7 separate regions of the Homo sapiens genome follow, and all the other regions are linked to region 6. Evidence: promoter capture Hi-C in 16 types of primary human blood cells and fetal thymus (Javierre and others, 2016). All regions are on one chromosome and are shown on one strand. The core of a region is centred on a gene start or on the middle of the fragment in contact, and the rest is flanking DNA. Distances in the headings are between cores, read along the strand shown. Region 1 holds the start of PCDHA9 (protocadherin alpha 9). Region 2 holds the start of PCDHGA8 (protocadherin gamma subfamily A, 8). Region 3 holds the start of PCDHGC5 (protocadherin gamma subfamily C, 5). Region 4 holds the start of PCDHA5 (protocadherin alpha 5). Region 5 holds the start of PCDHGA10 (protocadherin gamma subfamily A, 10). Region 6 holds the start of PCDHB5 (protocadherin beta 5). Region 7 holds the start of DIAPH1-AS1 (DIAPH1 antisense RNA 1).

Region 1 (4,035 bases), core at 1,368-3,867, 290 kb after region 6:
GGATTTCTAGAAAAATGAATAAAACTATTTGAACGGCCCCTGGGAGTAATCGATAATATCTTTCAAGAAAAAAAATTATATAAATAAATAAAATGCTAGAAAAACCCACCTTCCCAGTTGAATCTGAGGAAGCAGAGGGTTCTCCCGTTCGCTCTGTAGATCCAGCACAAGGAGAAAGGCCCGGGCTGAAGGCCATGAGGTCGGTCTTCTGCTTACCCTCGCCAGAGCACACCCTCTGCCTCCTCTGCTGCGAGTACGACCAACTCCCCACCGCGCTAGAACACACCAGCGTCGGCTTGCCAGGCGCGCACTCGCCCTCGGTGGGCATCGCCGAGCACCGCAGCACAGTGTACAGCAGCAGCGTGAGAACCAACAGGCTAGACACCGCGCAGATGGCGATGATCAGGTACACGTTGACATCCACCAGCGTCACCTCGGGGCCCGTGGCACCCACTGACGCCCGCGACGATGACTTTGGCGCCTGGCCGCTCTCCACCAGCGACACCAGCACAGTGGCCGTGGCCGTCAGCGCTGGCTCCCCGTGGTCTTTCACCAGCACCAGTAGGCGCTGGCGCGGTGCGTCCGTTTCGTCCAGGGCACGCGTTGTGCTGATCTCGCCCGTGTACAGCCCCACGCGGAACGGGATGCTCGCGCTGGCCGTTTCTGGCTGCAGCTCGTATGAAAGCCACGCGTTGTAGCCCGAGTCGGCGTCCACTGCGCGCACCTTCCCCACCACTACGCCGGCGCCCACCGACCGCAGCACCATCTCGCTCACTGCGCCGTCAGTGCCCCTCATCCGAGGTGTCAGCAGCGCCGGCGCATTGTCGTTCTCGTCCAGCACGAACACCTGCAGCGTCACGTTGCTGCCCAGAGGCGGCACGCCCGCGTCGCGCGCGCTCACCTGGAACTGTAGCAGCTCCAGCTCCTCGTGGTCCAACGGCTGCAGCGCGTACACCTTGCCGCTCTCCGCGTGCACTGACACGTAGCTCGACAGCGAGCGCTCGCCCAACCGCCGCTCCACCAGCGAGTAGGACACCAGGGCGTTCTCCTGCGCGTCAGCGTCCCGCGCAGACACCGTGAAGATGTGGCAGCCCGGCGGGTTGTTCTCCTTCACGAACACCGTGTACTCGGACTGCGCGAACGCTGGTGCGTTGTCGTTCACGTCGGCCACCTCCACAGACACCCTGGCCGTGGCCCACAGTGAAGGCGAGCCCCCGTCCCGCGCGGTAACCACCAGCTCGTAGGCGGACACACTCTCGCGGTCCAGAGCTCTGTCCAGCACCAACGAGTAGTAATTCTTGTAGGTGGACACCAGCTTGAAGGGGACGTGGGGCGTCAGGGAGCAGGTAACCTGCCCGTTGGCATCTGCGTCTAGGTCGATCACACTAATCAGGGCAATAACTGTCCCCAGTTGTGCGTCCTCTTTTACAGGAACCGAGAGCGTTTTGATAGTCAACTGTGGAGCATTGTCATTTACATCCACAACTTCCACAAGAAGTGTACAATGACCAGCCAGGGGTGGGAAGCCTTTATCGACAGCCTCGACTGGGATCTTGTGTGCTCTACTTTCTTCAAAATCCATATGTCCTATCACTGTGATTGCCCCACTTAAGGGGTCCATGTGGAACTTGGATTTTATATCTGGAGAAACATCACTGGAGAAGGAGTAAATAATATCCCCATTCAAGCCTTCGTCTAAATCTGAGGCATTGGGGTGAATCACCAGCGTTCCGATAGAAACGTTTTCTGGTAATTTCACCGTATACAGGGTTCTGTCGAACACTGGGGCATTGTCATTGTTGTCCAGTACCGTGATGAGTAATTGAACGGTGCCAGTCAGCTCGGGTTTGCCTCCATCGGTGGCCGTGAGCAATAAATGAAGCTCCGGAGTTTCTTCTCTGTCTAAAAGTTTCCGTAATACAAGTCCAAGAGGTTTTACCTGCTGGTTGCTGGTTGGCACGTCCAGGAAGAAATACTCATTGGGGCTCAGTCTGTAAGTGAGCAGGGCGTTCTCCCCGATATCTGCATCGGACGCGCCCTCTAGTGGAAACCGAGAGTCAAGCGGCCTGGATTCCGCGATGAACAGATTCTTTTGTGTCGCTGGGAACACTGGAGGGTTGTCGTTAATGTCCTTCACCTCCACGTCCACATGGAAAACCTGCAGCGGCCTGTCTACGATCACCTCCAGGTGGATGCTGCACTCCGCGCTCCGCCCGCACAGCTCCTCGCGGTCGATCCGAGAATTCACAAACAAAATGCCATTCTGCAGATTTACCTCCAGAAGGTCCCCGCGGCCTTTGGAATCCAACTGGAACAGGCGCGGCACCAGCTCCGCCAGCTCCAGCCCCAGGTCCTGCGCGATGCGGCCCACGAAGGTGCCGTGTTCGGCTTCCTCCGGGACGGAGTAGTGGAGCTGGCCGCTCCCCACCACCCACATTGCGAGGATCAGAAGCGAGAGCAGTAGAGGCTGACCCTCTGGATCTCCTCGACTTGAGTATAACATTTCAAATACTCAGTCTTCTTCTAATTAGTGAAAATTGCCTCCAAATTAGAAGAAATCATCTGATTTCGTCAGTCCCATTCTGCTGTGTTCGCCATCGTTCAGCACAGAGAGAGTGAAAAAGAATTGAGCCTCTTTCCCATGGGAAAAGGGCTGTATTTGTCTGGATTCAGAGAGAACATCGCGGCAAAGAGTGACATCACGTGGCCCAAAGTGTAAGTACATATTTCATGAATAAAAATTTCACAGTTATTCTGCAAAACTTATTTCATTTTCTTAATTTTTTCTTAAGTAATGATTGTTGAAACAGAAGATCCCGTTTCTCTTGCTGGAGCCTTCTTAGCAGACTGACTGCCTCTAAAAGTTTTGTATGACCTTGATTGTGGTTTTCTTATCCCTGAGAAAACTCTCCACTTAAGTTTTAAATAACGACAGAAATGAAGTAACAATTAAAATGATTCCATTGAGCAATCACGAATTTTAAATTACAAAATTCTTTTGTTCTGGAATTCAGAATCTCCCATATGGCTCGAAATAGGATTCTAGTGTAAGAGAAATCCAGGAGTTGCAATCTCTAGTGAATATAGGAGCCCAGAAATCTACTGATGAAAAAGAAACTTAGTCATGTCTGGTAAAAGGAATCAACAAAAAGTAGCAACCAACTGAGGTAGTTTTCTTGAGTAATTCTATGAATTGAAAAGGTATAAAATATTGCAAGAAAAGCGAGAATTGACTTTAAGGTCTTGTGTTGCGTGGGGAGAAAATATATTTTTCTCTTTTGTAGCATTTATACAATCTGTTTCCAGAAATGTGTTGTTTTGATTCTTTCCAAGCTTTATAATCTATGAATAATCTCTTCTTTGTAGTCTCCAATATAGTTTGTGTAATGTTATTACAATATGTTTTAATTTCATTATTGCTCATCCTTAGTACTCGGGGCAATTTCTGTTTTTAAAGCTATGCTTGAGATTCTTTTCCTGACTAAGTTCTACAAAGTTTTGTTGTGAGTTTTACTATCTTATTCCAACGTCCAAGTCGATTAATTAAATCTAGATTTTAGTGTATCTCAAGTCTAAAGGCAAAACCGTGAGTGTTTATTGTGCCATTAATGTTTTTGCATATTTATCTTTTATTTCGTATTTCTACTGATAACAGCCTAAGAGGTGCATTTAACAATTGCTTCTGTCCTTGATTACTGCAGGAGCTTCTGAGTTTGTCTTCCCGTTCAACCTTCTTTCAAAAGTCGTGATTTATTTTGCTCAAGGTAGTTAAATAGCTCCCAATTAATTCTAAAGAGTGGCCAAATTCCTTAATCACTCATGGCCCTTTAGTTTATTACTCAGAAATCAAGAGATCTTCTTACATTGGTTTTCCTGCTTTCATTCTCTGCAGACTGTGTGTTTTAACCAAAGTGGACTTTTCTACTTGTCATATTGATGCTTTCTGTGTCTTCAACTTTCCTTATGTTTTCTCTTTCCAAGAAATGTCTATCATTCTCAATATTCTCCCGGGGGGAACTTACTTATTTTAAAACC
Region 2 (4,119 bases), core at 1,578-4,077, 260 kb before region 6:
AAAATGGTTGAACAATCTTTTCCAAGTCGTTTAAAAGCAAATGAAACAATAACCTATGACTATTAGAGTTCAATTTTATAGTAACACCACCAAAATAAACCCAAAACTCTGTGATACACCTTAAAAATTATTTTCAACTATCTTCACAATGTTTTTCAAAACATAATTTATGCCAAATAAAATTCATCTGGAAATTAAAAGCAAGCAAAGAACTAAACTCACCTGACCATGATCAGCTTCATTCTTATATTCATGAAAATCTACGGATGTTAACAAAGAATCATTTTTCTCACAGCCCTCCTGACTGATGAGCATGTCTGCGTAGTTGGGCTGGGGAAAGATCAGGTGACTCTTCCGCGAGTCGGCGGTGAGGGAGACTTCCTGGGAATAGGTCTGCAGGAAAGCCTGTACCTCCTCAACACCCACAAAATGTGAGGCAGGCACGCCTACCAATCTGCCACCGGAATCCTGGAGCAGGCGTGACTTGTGCCAGCGCCTCAGCCTGAGCCCCAGAAGCACAGCGACAAAGGCGAGGAAGACACAGGAGATGGCAGCCACTGCCACCACGAGATAGAGTGTAAGGCTCGAATCGTTCGGGTCGACCGAAGGCTTCAGACTGCCCAACTCGGTCAGGACTTCGGGGATGCTGTCAGCCACGGCTACGGTGAGCGTGACAGTGGCGGAGAGAGGGGGCTGGCCATGGTCCTGGACGGCCACCACGAGGCTCTGCTTGAGCGCATCTCTGTCCAGCAGGGCTCGCGCCGTGCGCACCTCGCCCGTGTGCAGACCCACCGAGAAGAGTCCCGGCTCGCTGGCCTTGAGCAGGCGGTAGGACAGCCAGGCGTTCTGGCCCGAGTCTCTGTCCACCGCCACCACCTTGGTCACCAGGTAGCCACGCTCTGCGGAGCGGGGCGCCAGCTCCACGCCAGTGGAACCGTCTGTGGGGAGGGCGGGGTACAGGATCTCGGGCGCGTTGTCATTCTGGTCCAGCACGAACAGGCTCAGTGACATGTTGCTGCTGAGGGGCGGGTCCCCGCTGTCGCTGGCTGTTACCAGTAGCTGCAGGTCTCGGATCTGCTCATAGTCGAAAGATTGCAGCGCATACAGGACACCGGTGTCAGAGTTGATGGAGATATACGAGGACAGGGGCGCCCCCTGCAGCGTGTCCTCGGTCACAGAGTAAGTGACCTGGGCATTCTCCTGGCTGTCGGGGTCGTGTGCAGTCAAGGAAAAGATGGAGGCTCCTCTCAGGTTGTTCTCTAGGATATACGCTGAGTAGGAGGCATGAGGGAAAGTAGGAGGGTTGTCGTTAATGTCTGCCACGTGCAGAGCGATTTGAGTTTCAGTGGACAGAGGTGGTGTTCCTAGATCTGAGGCCATCACTGTGATATTGTAGATAGAGACATTTTCTCGGTCCAAATATTTCCTTGTCACTAATCTATAATAATTACCTATTGACTTTTCTAATTTAAAAGGTAAATTATCACGTGTGTAACAGACAACTTGACCATTCTTTCCAGAGTCTTGGTCATGCACACTCAAGAAGGCAATTACTGTCCCGGGAAGAGAATTTTCTAACACTGGGCTAAACAAAGACGTAATGATCACTTCTGGTCTATTGTCATTTACATCTTCCACCGAAATGAGCAATTTGGTCCTCCCCAGAAGTGCCCCCACATCTTCGGCTTGTATTTCCATTTCATAAAATGAACATTCTTCATAATCTAGACTTTTTGCTATTGATATTTCCCCAGTATTTTCATTAAGCTGGAATAACGGAGTTTGTTTTTCATTAATTTTCCGGAATTTGTATGCCACTTTTCCGTTGATTCCCTCATCCGGGTCGCTGGCTGTTACAGTAAGCAGCCGCGTGCCTGGGGGCATGTTCTCAAGGACTTTCACTCGGTAAATCGGGTGAGGAAAAACCGGGGCATTGTCATTTGTATCCAACACTGTCACGTGGATGCGCACTGTGCTAGAGCGAGGCGGCTTGCCGCCATCCGAGGCCGTGAGGACCAGGTGGTGAGCAGCCTCTTCCTCCCTGTCCAGGGCGCGCTCCAGCACCAGCTCTGGGTTTATGGCTCCATTGTCTCCAGTCTGCACGTCCAGGGAGAAGTGGTGATTGGGGCTGAGCTGGTAGCTCTGGAGGGAGTTCACGCCCACATCCGGGTCAACAGCTTCTGGGAGTGGATAACGTGCTCCAGGAACCGCGATTTCGTTAATTTTTACTTCTAGATCTTCGACCTGGAATTTTGGGTTATTATCGTTAATATCAATTATTTCTATTTCTACCCCAAAGAGTTTTCCTTTATCCTCAACCAGGGTGTTAATATTTATCAGACACCGCGGGCTCTGAGCGCAGAGCTCCTCCCGATCTATCCTGCCCGCGGTGATCAAGCTGCCGCTGCGCGGGTTCAGAGCAAAGAGCTGCGTCCTACCTCTGGAGACGATACGGACTCCGTGCTTCGCCAGCTTCCGGGGGTCCAGCCCCAGGTCCTTGGAGATATTACCCACGAAGGAGCCTTTGTCCGTCTCTTCTGGCACAGAGTAGCGAATCTGTCCCCTCCCGATTTCCCACAGCGTTCCCAGCAGCGCGCACAGCAGGATCAGCTCGCCGCGTCTGGGGCGACTCTGTGGAGCGGCCATTGTTGTTTTGCTGCAGAATCCTCTCAGAATCTTCACTGTGCATAAATGGGTCTTATTTAGTTTCTTGCCGCAGCTATGGAGATGACAATCCTCCGGAAACCTGGAGTGCCTCCAAACAGGGGTCGGGTTTCGCTGCAGTCCAGCAGTTAGTTTGTGGCATCTGCGGGTCTTCGTGAGGTGTGAGATCTGAGTGTTTTCGGTTGCATTTGTCTTCCAGTAGGTGAACAGCGGCGCTTACAGTCCTAAATAGTTACTGCACTGAGATACAGATTACTTCTAAATGTAATACTCTACTAGATTACTGAGAAAAAAAAATCATTTGCTTATTACTTTGTTTTGAATTTATTTGATTTATCCGTAAACCCATATTTTAAAAGAAACAGCCAAAGAATGTGAGATGAAGGTTTTATTTAGTGTTATTAAATGATCAGATTAGATCAGAATGATCAGATTGTAGCATCGGATTAAATTACTCACATTTCTGCAATACATTTGGTCTTAAAAAAAACATGATACTTTCATTTCCCATTGTGCTCTAAGCTTTATTGTAAATGTCTCCAATATATACTAACAAATAACTAAGAACTTCAGTTGTCACCAGAAATGAATTTATCTTGAGACTAAAATAGACCTACTGGAGATGACTGACTCAGAAATTGTTTTATTTGGTTTAAACTACTTAATCATTTTACAAGCTTTCTATAGAGTTGTTGCTTTTAAATTATTCTTCTAAATGCCACTTGAATTACATGTCGATAATATTTTCAAATAAAAATTGTGGAATTTCAATAGGATAAATGCTTTTACCATTGCAGTTTTATGAGATATTACATTGTTTTGCTATTTTATTTACATTGTTTATATTTTTCTATTTGAATACTTGAAAGGTACAGATGAATATATGATAAAAAGCAAAGCTCCATCCCATCCCTTTCACCAAAGAGATGATTAAATTTAAAGCAGACTTGACTTTTACATATATTCTAAAATTAACTTTACCTACATTAACACTTTGATCTAAAAAACTGCAAAAAGTAATGACTATATAATACTTACTAAGAAGCCAAAGGATAAGTATGACTACAAAAAAGTCTGTTTCCCTTCAAGACCAGCCTGGGCAACGTAGCAGATGAACTTATTTCACCCTTCCTTTGAAGACTGGTATGATAGTTTTTTCACTGACTAAAACTTTCTTAAAACCACTCATGAAATCTGAAAACTTTATATTTTCCTGTGAATATATTTTCTTATGCATATGGAAAACTGGGTAGACAATGGAAACCATACCAGTTAAATTAGTGAAAGAAAATATTTTCTCTACTGAAAACAGAAAAATTAGCCAGGTCTGGTGGCATGAGCCTGAGTTCCAGCTAGTCAGGAGGCTGATGCAGAAGGAATGCTTGAGCCCAGGAGTTTGAGGCTGGAGGGAGCTATCATTGTGCCACTGCACTACAGCCTGAGTAACAGACAGAG
Region 3 (4,046 bases), core at 388-2,887, 350 kb before region 6:
TGGAGTAGGTGAGGCGGGCATTATCCCCAGTGTCTGGATCTGAGGCAGCCACAGTGCAAAGAAGGGAGCCCGGAGGCCGGTTTTCTAGGATGTAAGCAGTGTAAAGCTGCTGGTTGAAGCGGGGTGCATTGTCATTGACATCTGAAATGTTGAGCCTGATGGTGAGATGTTTGTGTAGGGAAGGTGAACCAGCATCGCTGGCCAGCAGCTCGATGATATAGTGGGATGTGGCCTCCCGGTCCAAAGGCTGGCTGGTTAGCAGCGAGTAGTGGTTCTCAGAAGGCTTAATCTGAAATGGCAGGTCCGGAGAGATATCAAGGCTCACTTCACCATTTCTACCTGAGTCCCGGTCTCGCACATTAAACAACCCCACTACTGTGCCCACTGGTGTGCTCTCTAGGACAGGGTTGGCCAAAGAGGCCAATAGCACCTCTGGGGCATTGTCATTGACATCCCCCACATCCACTTGAATCACACAGTGGCCCTCCATGGCAGGCTGTCCCTGGTCACGGGCTCTTGCATGAATTTCATAGAAACGTGACTCCTCAAAGTCTATGGGACCCAACACATGGATTGCCCCACTGCTAGGGTCTAGGCCAAAGAGGTTCCGCACTGCCTCAGATGTGTGGTCTCCAAAAGAATAGTCTAGTTGGCCGTTGGTGCCCTCGTCTGGATCAGTGGCATTGAGGCGGAGCAGCAGAGTACCAATGGGTGCATTCTCTGGGATTCCCACACGTAGAACTGAGGATTGGAAGGTTGGAGCATTATCATTGATGTCCAGCACGATGACAGAGATAAGGGTGGTCCCTGAGCGGGCTGGGGTCCCCCCATCCACAGCAGTAAGCACCAGCTGATGTCTTGCCTGGGCTTCACGATCCAGCTGCTGCTCTAGCACCAGCTCTGGGAATGGCTTCCCATCTTTTAGGGTCTTCACATTCAGAGAGAAGTGGCTGTTGGGGCTTAGAGTGTAAAAGCTCACAGTATTGGTGCCCACATCCGGATCCTGGGCACTGTCCAGTGGGAATCGTGCCCCAGATGCTGCTGATTCTGAGATGCGCATCTCTCGCTCAGGGGTGGCAAAGCTAGGAGAGTTGTCATTGAGATCCAGGATCTCTACCTCTACACGGATTAGCTCCAGGGGGTGTTCAGTCACCACCTGCACTGGCAGCAGGCAGCTGGTGCTGGCTCCACATAGGCTTTCTCGGTCAATCTTTTGATTCACTGCCAGGGCACCACTCATCAAGCTCAGGGAAAAATAGCGCCCATTCTCCTCAGAGCCCAATTGCAGCCGCCGGCTCAACAGATCTGTCATCTTTAAGCCCAGATCCTGAGCAACATTCCCCACCAGCGTCCCCGGCTCAGACTCCTCCACCACTGAGTAACGAAGCTGCCCAGACACCCAGCCCCAGCAGCACAAGGACAACATGCACAGCACTTGCCATTTCCCAGCGAGCTGTGGGAGTGTCTTGGGCCCCATGACCCAGAAGTCCCTTTGTGGAGAGTAAGTCTGTGCTGTCCTGTCTCCAAGGTAGACCCAGGGCTTGGAATGCAGCAGCTGAAGTCTCTTATGTCTCCTTCCAGCCTCTTAAAAACTGCTCGGAGGTTTGCCTGCTTGCAGCAGTTCTTAGTCACCGAGTGGCGGGGGTGGGCAGGGGGGAGGGGAGCTGAATTTGAGTGGAGCTGGGGAGCTGGAGGAGGAGAGGCGGGCTGGAAGAGCAGATCTCCCACCTCAGCTCTGAGTCTGATTGGCCAAAAAGTCTGTGTGCTCTCAACCAATTATGGAGTTTCCTCAATCCTGGAAACCTTGGGAACACAGGCTGCAAATCTGTGTCACAGAAGCTTCCTACCTCCCCACTCACTTCGTGCTGCAGGTTGATTCAGCCCCCTTGGCAGCAAAGTTTGACAGCTCAGATGGTACTCAACAGGGAAGACAAAGTGATACAAAACTCCTCAGCGTTCTGTCCCAGCAACTTCCTGCATGACTTCAGAAGCTTCCACCACTTTGCTTGAACCAGCAAAATCTTGTCCTTCTGGGAGAGGCAAAGCCCATGTATTCCCCCACCCTCCCCCATCCTGCTGAATGCTGCTAAGGTGAGAGAAAAGATTAGTAAGAACCTTGTAAAGTCTTGCCCTGACTCTCCAGCAATGCTTTGCGGAAATCTCAATGTCAGCTGACATGGGACTTAGCTTTTCTGACACCCCAGACCCCAAATGTGGAATGAGTGTTACAGTTTTTGGGTAGGGGAACATTTCTGGGGCTGAATCAGGTCACCCAGGAGGGTGGTCAGAGGCCAAGCATGGATGGCTTGGCTTCTAGGTTTCATGGTTTCACCAAATTCAGGAGAACTCAACTTAAAGATGCACAGGGTGGCTGTTTCTATGAATCAGCCAACTGTAAACCAGTTTTCTGACATAAGTGATTTCACTTACTGTTTTTTCCAAAGGTGATGACCAACCCGCCCCAACCTTCCAATTTACCGCATCTAGTTCAAATCCCCAGTAGGGACTTGATATGAGTCCTAAGACCCAGACCAAAAGATCTATGCCACCACTCTGATGCGTGCCTCTCTATTCCTTTAGTTCTCTCCTCTTTCTGCTGTCTCTATGTTTCAAATAGAGAGGTCCCTTCACAGTGTACTAGATACTGGGAGACAAAGATTTTATTTCCCCTCAATCCCTTGGGAAATGGTAACCTAGAGTTAAGGTACTTCAGAATCTGATCCCCTCTTTCAGGAAGAGTAGAGAAAACAGCCACCTTTGTCCAAGTGACTGCCTGGTGCACTGTACCCTGTGCACTGTAGCCTCCTGTGCTCCCACATTCCATCATCATGCTTCCACAACAGCCTGGCTCTTGATCACCAATTACTTTCATTTCTTACTCAGATATAGGCATGACCCGCCCCCAATGCTAAACTGTGACAACTCTGGTTAATTCACGAAACAGTTACAAAGCACAGCGTCTACCACATAGTTACCTCTTACAAAAATGGTGACATCACTATGGGCACTTACTGAGAGGCCAGTACTCTCTAGGACATGGCCTAGCCATATGCCTGGATCAGAATAACCCTCAAGCATTTGTTGAGCCTGCAAAGGTCTCACCTCTAGCCCATAGAGAAGATCAGAGGGTGGGCAGCTTGGGCGAACAGGCTCCCCTGCCATAGGTGCACTGGGTGACTTCACCATCATGAAGCTATCACTCCGAGTGGGTGCAGAAGCCAAGGGTGTACAGCCATGAGAGTGGCCTCCCACATCAACAAACTTGATAGGGTCATCTGACCCTAGCTGGATTCGGAGGATCCCATTGGAAGGGGGAAGCCCCTCCCTCCTTCGAGATCTGGTGAGACAGGCACAGGTGCCAGCAGGAAAGCATGTGACTCCACAGGCTGCCCCACGAAGACACTTAGAGAGTAGTGCCACGAATGAGCCAAAGGAGACAAAGCAAATTGCCACTAGGGACACAGCCAAGTAGAGGGTTAGACGAGATTCTCCTTCCCTTGGAGCTGAAGATTCTCGAAGATCTGGGACAACTGGATGAGTGTCTTCCTCTAAGGACACTAAGAGAGTAACAGAGGTAGAGAGTGGTGGACTACCACTATCCTTTACCACAATGACCAGCTTCTGTGGTGGGAGGTCAGCTGGGATAGGAACAGCCGTCCGCACCTCCCCAGCATATCGAGAGACTGCAAACAGGCTGGGATCTGGGGCCTCCAGGAGCTGATAGGAAACCCAAGCATTGTAACCTGAATCCAAGTCCACAGCAGTCACCTTTGTGATTAGGTGGCCAGCACCAACTGATGGAGGCAGTGCTTGGGGACATAAGGAACCAGGCCGGGCCCGAGGACGGAGCACAGCTGGAGCATTGTCATTGAGGTCCAGCACAAATAGACGAACTGTTACAGTGCTGCTAAGGGGTGGGTTGCCCCGATCCCGGGCCTGCACCTCAAACTGCAGTGTCTGGGTTTGCTCATAGTCAAAGGATCGAGTAGCATGAACAGCTCCTGTCTGGGGGTTCAGAGAGATGAAAGAGGAAGCTGATACATCTC
Region 4 (3,985 bases), core at 110-2,609, 310 kb after region 6:
GTGGACACCAGCTTGAAGGGAACGTGGGGCATTAGGGAGCAGGTCACCTGCCCGTTGGCACCTGAGTCACGGTCAGACACGCTGATCAGAGCAATGACCGTGCTGAGTGGAGCGTCCTCTTTGACAGGCAGGAAAAGGGTGGTTATGGCCATCTCTGGGGTATTATCATTCACATCCAGGAGTTTCACTACTACTTTACAGTGTCCTGATAATGGGAATGTACTTTTATCCATGGCATCAATATTAATTTCATATGAGTTATAGTCTTCATAATCCAGTTCCCCGTTAACTTTTATTTCACCAGTATTAGAATTAATTATAAATTTGGACTTTACATCGTCAAGAACAAGATTACTAAAGAAATACACTATTTCCTTATTGATGCCCTCATCTGCATCTGAGGCGTTCAGTTTAATAACTAATGTCCCACTTGGTGCATTTTCCAACAATCTGACATTATAAATGGATTTATCAAATTCTGGGGCGTTATCATTAGCATCCAATACATTGATCAACAACTGAACTGTACCTGTTAGTTCGGGTTTTCCTCCATCAGTTGCAATCACTAATAAACGGTGTTCTTGTGTTTCTTCTCTATCTAAGGATTTCCTCAAAACCAGCTCTAAAAAGTTCGTTTCTTCTTCATTTGTTTTAACATCTAAGTCAAAATATTCGTTTGGATTTAACCTGTATCTCAATTGTGCATTTGCTCCAATATCCAAATCCGACGCGCCCTCTAGCGGAAACCGCGAATCTGGCATTCTTGACTCTAAAATGAATAATCTTTGTTCTTGTCTGGAGAACCTGGGCGGATTGTCATTGATGTCCTTCACTGCCACCTCCACATGGAAAACCTGCAGCGGCCTGTCCACGATCACCTCCAGGTGGATGCTGCACTCCGCCCTCCGCCGGCACAGCTCCTCCCGGTCGATCCGAGAATTCACAAACAAAATGCCATTCTGCAGATTTACCTCCAGAAGGTCCCCGCGGCCCTTGGACGCCACCCGGAACAGGCGCGGCACCAGCTCCGCCAGCTCCAGCCCTAGGTCCTGCGCGATGCGGCCAACGAAGGTTCCGTGTTTGGCTTCCTCCGGGATCGAGTAGTGGAGCTGGCCGCTCCCTGCCTTCCAGTAGGCAAGGAGAAGCCAGAGCAGCAGGAGCCGGGATCCCAGACTTCCTCTCCGGGAATATACCATCTCAATCTCGTTCCAATTATGAGCTTTCTATTGCATCACCACACAATGTATTTTGTAAATTCAATTCCCAATTAACTATATATTTTTTATATTATCGCCTTTCTGAGCTTCTTGGCACAGCCAAAAATGGAAGGTTCTTTTCCTTTCTGTCTAAGGAAAATCTACTCACTGTATTCCTTTGAGGCTGGGAAGGGAGAAAAACCTTCCGGTGTCCAGCGACATCATGTGGATGAAAGGGTAAGTGTTTTATTTTGTTTTGCTTTATTTAGCTTATATTCGTCAATATTTCTCAAGTATTCTCACTTTCAATGACATGATTCTTATTCTTTAAATCACTTATCTCTAGTCAAAATATATCATTAAACTCTATCTTAAAATGCGTCAATATAAGTGCGTCATTAAAATATTACAGAAAAATACATCTAAAGTCATGAAACCCCAATCCTTACTAGAGAAATTTGTGCTGGTGTATTTTATATAGGGAGGAGTTTATATATTTCCAAACTGATAAAAATAACTTTTAAGAGTTAAAGTTTTGACTTTTCTCATCTCTATTTAAACATATCTAATTAAAACTTTTGAGTTTTTTCTGTATTAGTCAATGGAATGTTTGTATGCTATCTCCGTGTTACTCATAAAACAAATTTTTATTCCAATTTCACTGTTTAATAGTGACATTTTGTTGATGTTATTTTCAAAAACAACTAAAACTATTTTAATGGCATTCTTACCTGAGTTTCTTCTCGGAGTTCTAATTTTCAAATCGATGAAAACCTATTTCTTTATCTATAACACCTATCTACTTTTTGTATTGACTCAAAAACTGTAATGGGGATATTTCAGCTTTCTAGAAATCAAAAGCATAATAGAACGACTTTGGTAAATCGTCTTTGCACTATTTTCAAATTAGAAGCATCTAGATAGCATTTCTTCAAGTTGCTATTACTGATAAAGCAATTATTAAAAATTGTAAAATACATACCTTTGTACTTACATAACAAGTCAAAATCCTAATATTGTCTATATGACATACTATTTCACAAAATGTTTAGGTTCCAGTAAATATAATCATGTTGAAAAGAATATCATTTTATTAACCAGGCTATCTTTATATTAGTTTAATTACTTTTTAATCTCCCAACTGTTTACTGGATGGTATGATTTGAACACGACCTAGAAAATTTAGTAAACTTCACTTAATAAATATGGGCAAAAGAAAATATCACCAAGTTTTCTATTGAAGAAATAGCTAACATTCTGCTTGTATATATACTCCATAAAATTCCTTAAATATTACAAAATATCCCTTACCTGTGAAGACAAGAGGGACCAAGAGATTAGCAATTCTATTGTTGGATACTTTTACATTTAAAATATAGCTTGATAAGAAAAAAGAAATTACCAGAAAATGCAAAGTCAGAGGAAATTCACTTGATTTCTGGAATTCAAACTTGTAAAGAAACAAGATATTGTCATAGAATTGTTTCTGATACAATCTTTAAAGATATATTTACCAGTTCCCTTATAAGATTTTTACTATCTCTATTATCATGACTTTTCACTAATATTTGGATCGTTGAAACACAAATCAATTTCCCAGACTATTTGCCTAATAGTTTTCATACTGATAATTTTGAAATATTTTAATACACAATGGTTAAAAACATAAGAAAATGATAATAAATATTTAGAAAACAGCATTAGCTGATGTTAGCCACTTTCTATTATATAACAGTAAATAATGTAAAACTACAAAGCTATGGAATAAATTATAGTAGAATTTTATACAAAATACACAAAGATAACCTTTGAAAAAAGTAAATATTAAGTATTTAAAAGGCAAATTAACAATGTAGTATTAACAATGTGTACATTGTAATCTGCAGAGTATTATGATAAATACTGAGTATTTTAAAAGATATACTCAATGGAGAAAAAGTCATCAACAATATCAGTTCACATGCTCCTCTCAGTCTGGAAAAAATATCTCATGTACTTATATAGATATTTCAGGAGGAAACAAGACTCTTGACTTTTGATTCACTTTCATATCTGTTAAATTATATTTACTTTTTAAATTATCACTTGCATTTGTGCTACAGTGATCAACTCTTATTTTGAATATTCCTTTCTCAGTAACTATAGATTATCCAATCTGAATTTCATGGGAGACTCCACAGGAAAAGAACATTTTAAAAAATCTTCTTCTAAGCTATTTTCTTCAATCAAATGTTACAGATTATTTTCTTGACTGATCCAGTTAACCTCTCCTTTAGATATTTCAGTCATGTTTAAGCATCATTGTGTAAACAGAAGTTCTTCCTTGAGAAAAAAATTTAGATTTAAAACTGTGTAGTATATTAAAGTGTCTCCATTTAATTCACTAAAAGCCTTTAGAAATATACTAACACAAGAAAATTTAATCTTCATAAGGGTACAAATGTCCTTTATTCCTTACAAAACCCAGAATAAAATTTTAATAAGCTATATTTTTCTTCTCTTATCTATAGAAATTATATAGATATACCAGATTGCAGAGAAGAGGAAATGTTGAAGCAATTGTATAAAAATGTATAAATAATTTATGCACATATGTCATTTGATTCTTCAAAAATTAATTCTGTATAAAAATTAATTTATTCTATTATAAGGATAGTAAGAAAGGATACCATGAGCATATAATACACATCTTAGCGCTGCCTGTATAATGAGTCACAGAGGAAGGTATAACTGCCCTATAAGGGAATGTGCTAAAATATCCATATTATATATCCTCTGTGGATAGAAAA
Region 5 (3,888 bases), core at 595-3,094, 280 kb before region 6:
AACGACACGTTGCTGCTGAGTGGAGGATCCCCGCTGTCGCTGGCTGTCACCTGCATCTGTAGCTCATGAAACTGCTCATAGTCGAAGGATCTGAGTGCATACAGGACGCCAGTGTCTGAGTTGATGGATATGTATGAGGACAGAGGTACCCCCTGGATGGTGTCTTCAGCCAGGGAGTAAATAATCTGGGCATTCTCTTTGCTGTCCGGGTCCAGCGCTGTCACTGAGAAGATGGAGGCACCCCTGGCGTTGTTCTCTGGGATATAGGTAAAGTAGGAGACTTGAGAGAAGGTAGGTGGGTTGTCATTGATATCTGCCACTTGTAGCATAAAGTGAGCTTCCGTTGATAGAGGAGGACTTCCCCCATCTGTGGCTGTCACTGTGATATTGTAAGAGGATACCTGTTCCCTGTCAAGGGCTCTGTGTATCACCAATCTGTAATAACTGTCAATGGACTTTTCTAATTTAAATGGTAGATACGCCAAAATGGAACAGGTTACCTGTCCATTCTGCTCAGAGTCTAAATCATGCACATTTAAAAGGGCTACGACTGTTCCCAGAGGTGAATCTTCAGTCACTGGACTAAATAGAGACGTGATGGTCAGCTCTGGACTGTTGTCATTTACATCTTCTACTGTAATCAACACTTTTGCAGTTGCAAGATATGCTCCTCCATCTTCTGCTTGTATTTCTATTTCATAGAAACCGGTTTCTTCATAATCTAGATTTTCTGATATTTTTATTTCTCCAGTATATTTGTTTAGTTGGAACTTCAACAATTGCGTGTCAGGTAATTTTCGGAATGAATATGTCACTTCTCCATTGGCACCTTCGTCCCTGTCGGTGGCTGTGACTGTCAGCAGCTGAGTGCCCACAGGCAAATTCTCAGGAACACTCACTCGGTATTCTGGCAAGGTGAAGACCGGCGCGTTGTCATTTGCATCGAAGACAGTCACACTGACAAGGACAGTGCCAGATCGGAGAGGGTCACCCCCGTCGGAGGCGGTGAGGACCAGGTGGTGAATGGCCTCTTCCTCGCGATCTAGGGAGTGCTCCAGTACCAGCTCCGGGTACTTGACGCCATTGGCACGGCTCTGAACTCTTAGGGAGAAGTGCTTATTGGGGCTGAGCTGATAGCTCTGCAGGGAGTTCACGCCCACATCCGGATCAATAGCTTCCGGGAGAGGAAAACGCATTCCCGCAGCGACATTTTCATTAATTTTTACGTCTAGATTTTCTGCTTGGAATTTTGGAGCATTGTCATTGATATCAGTTACTTCTATTTCTATCCCAAAAAGTTTCACCCTGTCTTCCACAAGGATATTAAAACTCACCACGCACCGCGCGCTCTGAGCGCAGAGCTCCTCCCGGTCTATCCTGCCCGCGGTGATCAAGCTGCCGCTGCGCGGGTTCAGAGAGAAAAGCTGCGTCCTACCTCTGGAGACTATGCGGACTCCGCGCTCCGCCAGCTCCCGGGGCGCCAGACCCAAGTCCTTGGAGATGTTGCCCACGAAAGAGCCTTTCTCTAATTCCTCAGGAATTGAGTAGGAGATCTGCCGGGCTCCAGCCTCCCATGGAATCCCGAAGAAAAGGCAGAGCAGGACCAGCCCGCTGCAATCCTTTGATTCCTTTGAGCGATTCCTTTGAGCGGCCATTGTAGTCTGGTTACAGAATTCTGCAAAGTCCTCACTGGACACGTTGTGTGTTTCAACCGGTTCCTTTGTCTTTCTGTGGCTTCAGGGTGTCTCTGTAGCCTGGGCACTTTAAATTCTGGAGTGAGCTTCCCTGCAGCCCAGCAGCCGGTTTGTGGGGCTTGTGTAGTTGAAGCCCTGAGAATCCGGATTGAGCTCTGGCTGCGTTTTCTCTCCTAGTAGGTGAACAGCGGCGCTCAGAGTCCTAAGAAGTTACTGCACCCAAGTGATACATGCAATGGAAAGTAAACTATTCTGTTGGATTATTATATTTTACATAGATTCTTTGGTTTCTCCACTCCTATCTTTAAATAATTTACTATATGTAGGTTTCTTAGGGGAGGTGTGATAAAGTGGAGTGAAAATATTGTAAATATTTCAAGATAATGTTTGGTTAAATATATATTTGCAACACGTTTTCCCAACAGAAATGTACACACTTTAATAAAAGGTAAATAATACTTATTTTAGGTCATATTAGTGTCTAGGTAAATTCAGAAAAGTCTTATAATTTAAAATTGTGATTTGAATAGGCCAATTTTATTTAGTATACATTCATACAAAGATTATATTAAATAAACTCATGAGATAATTCACTCTGAAGCTTTATAATTGTAACTACTTAATTCATTAAACTTATTTAGCTTAGGATTGTGTAAGAGGTTTTTAAAGTACTCTTCTAGAATAGTTTTACTGAGCCTTAATTAACCTTTTTGTGTAAAACATACTTTATCTTACAGGGATACAAGTTAAATGGACCTATTTAAATGATTAAGCAGGTAATCACAAACTAAAATGAACATATATTACAGTTGCAAATTAAACTGTTTGCATTGTAATGAGAAAAGAAATACGTAGAATTTGAAGTACTAAAAGTTTTAGAAAACAAAGTTAGATGTAGTGATATAGGTTTTTAACAAGTAAGTGTTTATGTCAAATGACCTGTTTTCATCAGAGCATTAATACCAGTATAAATAATCTCTTCTCTTAGGCAGTTTGTATCAGAGGCCAAAGTCCAGTGGTTCACATATCTTCAACTGTGTGTGCCCATCAACCCAGTAGCAATTGTTCCCTCAAATGCAAAGGGTATAGAAGTTCACTTCTTTCACACAGAGAACAGGATGTTCAGAAGTGTTTATGTCACTATGCCTTCCAAGTATAGAACTCTTCAAAGATTTTATCTTTTTTCTTCAAAAATCTTCTATCAGAGAATCAGAGACAGAGACTGAGTGCAAAGGCAATAGTATTTCATTTATTTCTTAGAAATGTCTTTTTTTTTTGAGACAGGGTCTCACTCTGTCACCTAGACAGCTCACTGCAGCCTAGACTTCCTGGGCTCAAGCGATTCTCCCACCACAGCCACCAGAGTAGCTGAGACCACAGGCATGTGCCACCACACCCTGCTAATTTTTAAATGTTCTGTAGCGATGGAGTCTCCCTGTGTTGCCCAGGCTGGTCTCAAATTCCTGCGCTCAAGAGATTCTCCACCTCCACCTCCCAAAGTGCTGGGATTACAGCACACTTGGCCCTGCCTGCATATTTATTTATTTATTTTAGAGACAGGGTCGCACTCTGTCGCCCAGGCTGGAGTGCAGTGGCAAGATCAGGGCTCACTGCAACCTTGACCTCCCAGGACCAAGCAATCCACCCAGCTCAGCCTCCCAAGTAGCTGGGACCACAGGGGAATGCTACCACACTCTGCTAATGTTTTTTTTTGTTGTTGTTGTTTTAGTAGAGATGGGGGGTCTCCCTATATTGCCCAGGCTGGTCTCAATTCTTGGGCTCAAGTGATACTTTCCGATTCAGCCTATCAAAGTGCTGTGATTATAGGTGTGAGCCACTGGGCCTGTCTTCTGAATATTTTTAGGCTTTAAAAATATATAAATAAGATATCGTAAATTCACTAAGTCTTCGCAAATTTGAATAGATAGGTTACTTGTTTGTTTTCTTAGATGCCAAGACCACTGCTTCTGTTCGATAGTCAGAACTTGACAAAATATTGTGGCTCACGCCTGTAATCCCAGCACTTTGAGAGGCCAAGGTGGGAGGATCACGAGGACAGGAGTTTCTGAACAGCCTGGTCGACATAGTGAAACCCCATGTCTACTAAAAATACAAAAAATTTAGCTGTGGTGAGGGGCACCAGTAATCCCAGCTACTTGGGAGGCTGAGGCAGGAGAATCGCTTGAACCCAGAA
Region 6 (4,131 bases), core at 1,062-3,561:
GGCCAATGCCACCACCAGGTAGACAGTGAGCGAGTCGGCCTGGGCCTGGGCCGGGGCCGCCTCCGGCAGCGGCAGGTAGGGCTGGGAGAAGCCGTCCACCAGGAGCACGTGCAGCGTGGCGGTGGCCGAGCGCGGAGGCTCGCCATTGTCCTTGACCAGCACCACCAGCCTGTGCTTGGCCGCGTCGCGCTCGCTCAGCAGCCTGGCGGTGCGCACCTCGCCATTGTGCGCCCACATGCTGAACAGCCCGGGCTCCGTGGCCTTGAGCAGCTGGTACGACAGCCAGGCGTTCTGGCCCGAGTCACCGTCCACCGCCACCACCTTGGTCACCAGGTAGCCCGGCTCGGCCGCCCGGGGCACCAGCTCGGTGCAAGGCGCCGAGCCGTTCTGCAGCGGATACAGCACGAAGGGCGAGTTGTCGTTGGCGTCCAGCACCAGCACGCGCACCAGCGCCTCGCTGCTCAGCGCCGGGGAGCCGCGGTCTGTGGCTCCCACGCGGAACTCGAACGCCTGCAGGGCCTCGTAGTCCAGCGACCTGAGGGCAAACAGGTGGCCGTTGTCCGCGTTGATGGAGACCAGGGAGGCGAGGCGCAGGTGTGGGTTCTGGGGCGGCAGCAGCGAGTAGGTGACCTGGGCGTTGGTGCCTGAGTCTCTGTCTGTGGCGCTGACACTGCCGATGTGCAGGGCGGGGCTGTTGTTCTCTCGGACGAACAGGGTGTAGGAGGTTTGGGTGAAGGCGGGGGCGTTGTCATTGACGTCGGAGACCAGGACCGTTATGTTGTGCTCGGTTTTCAGCCTGGGTGTCCCCATGTCGGTGACAGTGATGGTGATGTTGTACTCGGCTTGGCTCTCTCTGTCCAGTGTTCTCTGTGTCACTAGGGTGTAAAAGTTTTTTAATGTGGGCTTCAAAAGAAAGGGGAGATCATTCTGGATGGAGCAAATCATCCTACCGTTGTCCCCGGAGTCTGGATCAGAAACACTGAAAACGGCAACTACAGTTTCCGGGGCATTTTCTGGGGTAGGGCTGGAGAGCGTAGACATGGTGAGTTCAGGGGCGTTGTCATTCACATCCACCACTTCTATAGCCACAGTGCATTTTCCTGAAAGGCCCCCACCATCTGTGGCTACAATTTCCACGTTATAATATGGAGTTGCCTCGAAATCCAATGCCCTTTTCAGGCGAATTTCTGCTGTTTTCTCGTCTATTACAAATGGTTGAGTAACTTCATCGCCTTGGAATAGAGCATAGGCTACACTCCCATATGCTCCTGCATCTAAATCTCGAGCGGAGACAACGACAACTAAGGAGTTAAGGGGGCTGTTCTCGGGCACCTGTACCTCATAGAATGATTGTAAAAATTCGGGGGCGTTGTCATTATTATCCAAGACGACAATGCGAATTGTGGTGGTCCCGGACCTGGGCGGAGCCCCACCGTCCAGTGCAGTGAGTGTTAAGCTGAGCTCAGGCCGCTCCTCCCGGTCCAGCGCTTTGTCCAGCACCAGCTCTGGGTATTTTCTGCCATCTCCGCGATTATGCGTAGCAACATGAAAGTGTGAATTTGGGCTGATTGTGTAGTTCTGAACAGTGTTGCTACCTATGTCAAAGTCCTGGGCTATTTTTAAGGGAAACACAGTCCCTGGCTGGGTGCTCTCTGGGATTTTTAGGAGCATTTCCTTCTCTGGGAACTCTGGGGCATGGTCATTTATATCTGTGAGCTGCAGATCAGTTTGAAAAAACTGCACTGGATTTTCTAGTAAGAGCTGGAAATGCAATATACAGGGTTCTGTCGCCCCGCACATCACCTCCCGGTCTAGTTTTTCATATAGAAGCAAATTGCCGGTCTTTATATCAAGCTGCAAGAGCTCTTTGTTTCCTTTGTAATGCATTCGCGCGCCCCGAGTGGCCAGTTCCCCCACCCCAAGACCCAGGTCTTTTGCCAGGTTGGCCACAGAATAGCCACTTTCTGTTTCTTCTGGTATGGAATACCTAACTGCCTCAGAGCCAGCCTCCCACAAAAGCAACAATATAGCAAGAAACATAACTTGCCTTTTCTGTGGCGTTTTTGCTAGCGCAGTCTCCATTGTTCAGACCCGGTCCAGAAGGCGCAGTTTAACTCCGTACACAATCCACCCAGATGATTTGCATAAATAACCGCGAATCCGATCTTTCTTGACTGATTTCCACAAGAACGAAGCCCACCCTGAAGATCTAGCCACTAGATCTTACCTAAAATGCGTCCTTCTTTTAGAGTTTGGATTCCCCAGCTTAATGGCGTCTGAGTTATCCGCAGAGCCCACTATCCACACTCTTAGCCTGCAGCGCCACCAGGCGTCCTAATTTACTATTGCATATAGTATTTGCCATTTCATCCTAAATTCTAACTGACGTGTATCCATACCCTTTTGTCACATAAGCTCTCCCGATGGTATCTCCAGCTCTTAGTTGCTGAAAGTTCTAAATAAATGTTGTGGAGTTAATTTTCAGTGAGAAAATACTTTTGAGAAAAAAACTAAAATTATATATTAATCTCCATAAAAGTACCCTTGAGTACACAAATACACTTTGTTTGGTGTTTCTTATTTGATTATATTAAATAAGTGATCAGGAATATCTATAGAAATTTAAAGTTTAAGAAAAATTACTTTCACTTTGAAGTAAACACCAATAACACCCAGAAAATGGCACAAATCATAGGTGTATAACTCAATGAATTTTCGCAAAGTGAACACACTCCTGTAAGTAGAACCTAGATTAAAAATACTACCCAAACCCAAGTCCCCACCTGCTATTGTCTGGTTACCACCCTCTCCCCAAAAGATAAGCACTGTCCTGACTTCTGTTGTCATAGGTTTTTTTTGCTTTTTTTTTTTTTAACTTTATACAAATGGAGTTATAGATTGTTACTCTCGTGTGTCTGGCTTCTTCTCCTCAATATTATGTTCAGCAAATTGATCTGTGGCATCTTGTTCTTATTTGTTTTATTCTCATTGCTTTATATCATTCTGTTGTATGAATATACTATGATTTATTTATTCATTCTCCAGTTGATGAACATTGTTTTCCAGGTTTAAGCTCTTTGGGGTAGTACTGGTATAAACATCCTTGTACTAGTCTTTTGGTGACCACATATATGTGTTTATGTTGAATATATTCAAAGGAGTTGGATTGCTATGCATTAAGATGTGCACATATATTTTGCTTTAGCAGATAATGAGAAAGTTTTCTCAAGTAGTCGTACTAATACCAGCAAAGTATGAGAGTTCCAGTTGCTCCACATTCTTGTCAACATTTGATGCTATCTTTTCCATTTTAAACCACTCTGGTTAGTGTATGGTGATATGATATTGTAATTTTAGTTAGCATTTTCCCTGATGATTAAACAATTTGAGCACATTTTCATGTTTATCAGCCATTAGGATACAATCTTGTGAAGGGCTTATGCAAACCTTTTTACTTTTTTGGGGGGAGGCATTTGCCTGTTTGCTTATTGATCTGCAGAAGTTTCTCATATATTCTGGGCATAAGTCCTTTTTAAGATATATGTATTGCAAATATCTTTTCCCACTCTATGGTTTTTATTTCAAGTCTATTATGTGTCTTTGATGAATAAAATTTCTTACCTTTAGTCAGATTTGTCAATAAGTTTCATGTATGATTAGCATTTTTTTGTGTTCTATTTAAATGTTCACATACTCCAAGGTCATGAAAATATTCTTGTATGATGTATTTTGAAAGATTAATTATTCCATTTTTCATATTTAAAGCTATAATCAACCTGAAATTAACTTTTCAAGTGAATGAGTTTGGAGTCAAAAGGTTTAAAATGTAAGTATCTGAATGCTTTAAACCTTTGCACCATCTATTTAAAAGACAATCCATTTTCCATTGTTTTTGAAATGTCATCTTTGTTATAAATTAGGTAACCATAGCTCTGAAGATGTTTTATTCAATCTTGTTTATCCTACAATAACTCATTGTGTTAATTATTATAGCTTTATCATGAGTTTTGTTATCTGAGAAGTAAGTTCTCCAGTTTTTTAAAAGTAGACTAAATTTTTAGAATGGTTTTTGGTTCACAGCAAAAATGAGAGTAAAGTACAGAGATTTCATATATGCCCCTGTCCCCACAC
Region 7 (3,934 bases), core at 853-3,352, 420 kb before region 6:
AATTTGAGCCTAGATATATTGGGCTCAAATCCAGCACTTAGTGAAAGGGAGTGGCAAGAATGCAGGCATGTTGAGAGAAACCTCAGGTGCTTGCTTCCAGTGACTGACAGTGTAAAGTAACTGTGCTAGTGCTTCTTGATTTTTACCAGTGATTAGTGTCCTGATTTCTTCAACAAATAAATTTCAGGGGAAAAAATGAGATGGAGAGGAACATATAGATTAAGAGGGAATTTTAAATTTTATCAACCAGTACAGTATATGGAACTTATTTAGATCTTGATCCAAATGAACTATACAAAACACTTGACAGTTGAGACAGCTGGAAATTAGTGTGATAATGGTTTCATGGCATTTTTTAAAAAGTCATCATCTTTTAGAGATGTGTACAGAAATAATTGCGGATCATTATGGGATTTAGAAGTGGGGTGTAGATGAAACAGAATTGGTCACGAGTGGATAACTGTTGAAACTGAGTGATGTATGCATGGGGATTAATAATTGTGTTTTTGAATGTTTAATTTTTCCCATAATAAAACATTTTTTAATCCAGGAAAAGAGTTTTATTTCTAGTACCTTATTTTAATGCCTTTTCTTCTGCCCTCTAGCCTATTGTTTCCTTGCATAAACCTGTCCTCTTTGCTGACATACCTGAGTCCTTGTTTGGGATAGTGCCTGTCCTTCCAGTCCTTCCCCACCCACATCCTAGAAGCAGACCTCTTTTTAGCACTCCCTAATTGAGTCACCATCCTGGGTGTGCTGGGAAAGTATCTGTGGGAAACTCAATGACTATATTATCTGAAAGACCAAATGCTTGGTGAAGTGCCCAGATTTTTAATACTGCTTTTCTGCTACCCTTCCAGACTTATATCTGTCCCCTTCTTTATAACTCTCAGCATCTGGTTCTTCCTTTGGGATTCTGTGTGGCTTTGTTCTTGTCCTTTAGGTTTGTTCATTAATGCCAGTTTGCCCTGTCCCTCCTTACAGCTTGCACATCTGTAATGGTCTAGTTCTGTGGGATTTTGCAGATAGTTGTATATTTTGGCCAAGGTATCAGTGATACGGTTACCTTTGGGCAGGGATAACTGCTATTCGGTTGGCATGATATTTTTTCCTTCTATAATGTATACCTTAGTGATTGTTTTAAAGTGCTGAATTTATCCCTTATGTATATTACAACCATGAAGAATATAAATCAGAAGTCCTCCATTTGGGCAGCTTCTTATATTAACACTTATATTAACATTAAGACCCTCTTACTGTCTCCTCTTCCCAGAATTAGAGAGTTGATGTAGTGCTTAATAGACATGGCTTATTGTATGCTAGGTGAACTTGGCAATTCCATAGCTATGTTACCCTCACAGAAAGTTATTTCCTGGAGAGATTATTAAGTGTTCTGATCTTTCATATATGCCTGAGAGATCTAAGATTCTTCCACAAAGACCCTATTTCTTCAGAGAAAACTATAGTGATGCCAGAGTCTTTTTTTTTTTTTTTTTAACAACTTGTGATTTTTGTGCACCTGTGTTGTATGTGTTGCCATTATCTCACTTTAGGGACGTTGGATAAACTGGCGTATTTGTGCAGCCTCATTTAAGTAGTGGCAACCATTAATGACTTGTACCCACAAGTTTTTCCAGATAATTTCTGTTTTTTCCACCTTTCTTACATGTTCTTTTTTAGTCATAGGTACTTGGCTTACTCAAGGGAGGTGTAGCGTAAGATAAAGATAATGGAGGGTGTTCCCTGTAGAATAGGTACAAATGCTGCAGGCTTTATCTTGGGCAGAGCAAGTAGGGTTTTGGTCCTGAGTAAGTGAGTGAGGTTAGGTGGAGCTGCCTGTCTTCCAGCCGTGCGGATACAACTGACTCAGTCCGTGTTCTCAACAGTTTTTGAAAAGCCCATTTTTCTATCCCACTTACTCCCACCTGCAGTTCTTTAAGAACGTAGTTTCCAGGATGTCAGGCAACTCCCCACTCCTCCATTTCCTGTTTGTGGTCTTCATTGAGAGACGCCTTAAACAGGAATTCCTGGGGAAGTGCAGGCTATAGCGGTGGGATTCCGGGGGTCATTAGTCCATTATTGAAGCTGGGGAATCATGTACTATAAAAGGACCTCCCTTCCGTTCTGTTGTCTCCTAGAAACTATTACTGATCATAACCAAGCAGTAACTGCAACTCAGGGCTGTTGACTTGTGCCCTTTGTCTTTAGAGACTGAAAATTATTTTCCCTTCTTGTGCCTCAGTTTCTATTAGTTGAATTTTAGAGCTCAACATCAAGATTTGTGACAAAATTAACTTGGACTCTGTAGGACTGATTCGTTTGAAATGCAAAAGTAGTGAAGAACATAAAACAGACTCCCTATCTTGGCCGCCAGGGGGTGCCCTTTCCCTTCGCTTTACTGTCTGGCACTCCCCACCGCATTCAGCCATTTTAGACAGATTGTTTTTGCTCCCAGCTAACTCCATTTTGTATTTGTGACGCAGGAATAAAAAAAGGAGTTAGGCAAAGGAGGAGTCTGGTTTGCAGAGGGAGGGAGACTGGCTGAGGCGCAGCTACGTACTCTTTTACTCAGCAGTTGCTCATCAGGGACACACCTTGCTGCAGGCTGCCTGCATCCTGAGCAATCGATGCCGCAAGTCCTTGCCAGCGGAGCACAGAGCAAAATGGTTTGGCTGCCGGACACCTACTAACAGTGACAGAGTGCTAGCTTTTGAGGCAGCAGGCCAGGGCATCCCCTCTGCCTCATCTAGACTCTAATCCTGGGTTTAGGTGTTTTTGCTACAGAGATGTTTAGGGCAGTTTTCTTAATTATAGGATCAGATAAGAAAAGATACCCCCAAAAAAAGAAGAAAAAAAGGAACCCCTTTCACTTAGCTGTCTGGGAAGAATCAAATGCCCCAAGGACTCTAGGGAAATGGTCCTGAATTTTTTTAAAAAATGTTATTTTTGAAACCGTGAAAAAAATGCACGCACACATACACACATATATGTAAAGAGACTAGTATGAACACCCCTATGTCCATCACCCATTTAAAAAACTTAATCAACAGCTAGTCTTGTTTCATATACCTGTATCAACTTTGTCTTTGCCACCCATTATTTTTACATGTATCCTTGTTCATATTATTTAATCCTTAAGCAGTTCAGAATGTGTGTCAAAAAAATTAGGACTTTTAAAAGAAGATAATTACTACCATTATCACATTTAAAAAATTCTTTATCATCAGATAGCCAGTTAGTATTAAATTTCCCAAATTATCTTATGATAGTTGTTTTTTTTAATAGTTCATTTGAATCAGAGCCAAATAAAGTCTACACATTGCAGTTGGTTGATGTCTCTATAGGTTCTCTCTTATGCTCTTTTTTATTTTTTATTTTGCAATTTATTTATAGACTTAATTTCTTTTAAAAAGATCTCTGCCAGGCGCGGTGACTCACGCCTGTAATCCCAGCACTTTGGGAGGCCGAGGCGGGCGGATCACGTGAGGTTGGGAGTTTGAGACCAGCCTGGCCAATATGGCGAAACCTCGTCTCTACTAAAAATACAAAAATTAGCCGGGCCGCCTGGTGGCGCATGCCTGTAATTCCAGCTACTCGGGAGGCTGAGGCAGGAGAATTGCTTGAACCCGGGAGGCGGAGGTTGTGGTGAGCCAAGATTGCACCACTGCACTCAAGCCTGGGTGACAGAGTGAGACTCCATTTCAAAAAATAAATAAATAAATAAATAAAAAGAAGATCTCTCAGGTTGGGACTGAGAAGATACAAAGCCAGACTTCCCTTCTTGCCAGAGCAGAGCCTCTTCTTTAGGATTTCCCACAGAGGCTATTGGTGACCAAGTGAAGGAGCAATGCCCTGCCACCTTCAGAGGGAGAAAGGGCTGGACTCTTACTTTTCTCCTGACGTGATAATCTGTTACCCAAAGTCTTGAGAAAAG

Evidence for each region. Contacts are between HindIII fragments. The CHiCAGO score rates a contact against its expected background, and 5 or more counts as called.
Region 1: a contact is called between the fragment with the promoter of PCDHA9 here and the fragment with the promoter of PCDHB5 in region 6, in 10 of 17 cell types (erythroblasts, neutrophils, M2 macrophages and 7 more). The highest score is 19.2, in erythroblasts.
Region 2: a contact is called between the fragment with the promoter of PCDHGA8 here and the fragment with the promoter of PCDHB5 in region 6, in 9 of 17 cell types (fetal thymus, activated CD4 T cells, naive CD8 T cells and 6 more). The highest score is 10.0, in fetal thymus.
Region 3: a contact is called between the fragment with the promoter of PCDHGC5 here and the fragment with the promoter of PCDHB5 in region 6, in 5 of 17 cell types (fetal thymus, naive CD8 T cells, neutrophils and 2 more). The highest score is 7.6, in fetal thymus.
Region 4: a contact is called between the fragment with the promoter of PCDHA5 here and the fragment with the promoter of PCDHB5 in region 6, in 13 of 17 cell types (M2 macrophages, erythroblasts, neutrophils and 10 more). The highest score is 13.2, in M2 macrophages.
Region 5: the fragment with the promoter of PCDHGA10 here is called in contact with the fragment with the promoter of PCDHB5 in region 6 in 12 of 17 cell types (naive CD8 T cells, fetal thymus, activated CD4 T cells and 9 more); the score reaches 12.9 in naive CD8 T cells.
Region 7: the fragment with the promoter of DIAPH1-AS1 here is called in contact with the fragment with the promoter of PCDHB5 in region 6 in 9 of 17 cell types (naive B cells, naive CD4 T cells, naive CD8 T cells and 6 more); the score reaches 9.6 in naive B cells.

Annotation. Positions count from the first base shown.
Region 1 is chr5:140,846,964-140,850,998 of GRCh38, reverse strand. It overlaps PCDHA9 (protocadherin alpha 9), which reads right to left and starts at 2,617. Exons shown (of 4, transcript NM_031857.2): 1 at 110-2,617. The coding sequence starts at 2,503. The region is part of intron 1 of PCDHA1 (protocadherin alpha 1); the gene reads right to left. The region is part of intron 1 of PCDHA2 (protocadherin alpha 2); the gene reads right to left. The region is part of intron 1 of PCDHA3 (protocadherin alpha 3); the gene reads right to left. It also overlaps PCDHA4, PCDHA5, PCDHA6, PCDHA7, PCDHA8 and PCDHA@. The HindIII fragment of the contact is 21,410 bases long and covers 1-3,335 here.
Region 2 is chr5:141,391,341-141,395,459 of GRCh38, reverse strand. It overlaps PCDHGA8 (protocadherin gamma subfamily A, 8), which reads right to left and starts at 2,827. Exons shown (of 4, transcript NM_032088.2): 1 at 223-2,827. The coding sequence starts at 2,646. The region is part of intron 1 of PCDHGA1 (protocadherin gamma subfamily A, 1); the gene reads right to left. All of the region lies in intron 1 of PCDHGA2 (protocadherin gamma subfamily A, 2), which reads right to left. The region is part of intron 1 of PCDHGA3 (protocadherin gamma subfamily A, 3); the gene reads right to left. It also overlaps PCDHGB1, PCDHGA4, PCDHGB2, PCDHGA5, PCDHGB3 and PCDHGA6, and 3 more genes. The HindIII fragment of the contact is 13,870 bases long and covers 1-3,188 here.
Region 3 is chr5:141,486,672-141,490,717 of GRCh38, reverse strand. PCDHGC5 (protocadherin gamma subfamily C, 5) reads right to left here and starts at 1,637. Exons shown (of 4, transcript NM_018929.3): 1 at 1-1,637. The coding sequence starts at 1,477. All of the region lies in intron 1 of PCDHGA1 (protocadherin gamma subfamily A, 1), which reads right to left. All of the region lies in intron 1 of PCDHGA2 (protocadherin gamma subfamily A, 2), which reads right to left. All of the region lies in intron 1 of PCDHGA3 (protocadherin gamma subfamily A, 3), which reads right to left. It also overlaps PCDHGB1, PCDHGA4, PCDHGB2, PCDHGA5, PCDHGB3 and PCDHGA6, and 13 more genes. The HindIII fragment of the contact is 4,500 bases long and covers 1-1,841 here.
Region 4 is chr5:140,818,987-140,822,971 of GRCh38, reverse strand. PCDHA5 (protocadherin alpha 5) reads right to left here and starts at 1,359. Exons shown (of 4, transcript NM_018908.3): 1 at 1-1,359. The coding sequence starts at 1,196. All of the region lies in intron 1 of PCDHA1 (protocadherin alpha 1), which reads right to left. All of the region lies in intron 1 of PCDHA2 (protocadherin alpha 2), which reads right to left. All of the region lies in intron 1 of PCDHA3 (protocadherin alpha 3), which reads right to left. It also overlaps PCDHA4 and PCDHA@. The HindIII fragment of the contact is 13,774 bases long and covers 1-3,985 here.
Region 5 is chr5:141,410,943-141,414,830 of GRCh38, reverse strand. It overlaps PCDHGA10 (protocadherin gamma subfamily A, 10), which reads right to left and starts at 1,844. Exons shown (of 4, transcript NM_018913.3): 1 at 1-1,844. The coding sequence starts at 1,655. The region is part of intron 1 of PCDHGA1 (protocadherin gamma subfamily A, 1); the gene reads right to left. The region is part of intron 1 of PCDHGA2 (protocadherin gamma subfamily A, 2); the gene reads right to left. All of the region lies in intron 1 of PCDHGA3 (protocadherin gamma subfamily A, 3), which reads right to left. It also overlaps PCDHGB1, PCDHGA4, PCDHGB2, PCDHGA5, PCDHGB3 and PCDHGA6, and 7 more genes. The HindIII fragment of the contact is 11,668 bases long and covers 1-2,297 here.
Region 6 is chr5:141,133,386-141,137,516 of GRCh38, reverse strand. It overlaps PCDHB5 (protocadherin beta 5), which reads right to left and starts at 2,311. Exons shown (of 1, transcript NM_015669.5): 1 at 1-2,311. The coding sequence starts at 2,082. It also overlaps PCDHB@. RefSeq lists enhancers at 1-79, 80-613. The HindIII fragment of the contact is 16,081 bases long and covers 1-4,131 here.
Region 7 is chr5:141,556,479-141,560,412 of GRCh38, reverse strand. DIAPH1-AS1 (DIAPH1 antisense RNA 1) reads right to left here and starts at 2,102. Exons shown (of 3, transcript NR_038333.1): 1 at 1,926-2,102. All of the region lies in intron 18 of DIAPH1 (diaphanous related formin 1), which reads left to right. RefSeq lists enhancers at 2,217-2,511, 2,272-3,124. The HindIII fragment of the contact is 6,603 bases long and covers 1-3,934 here.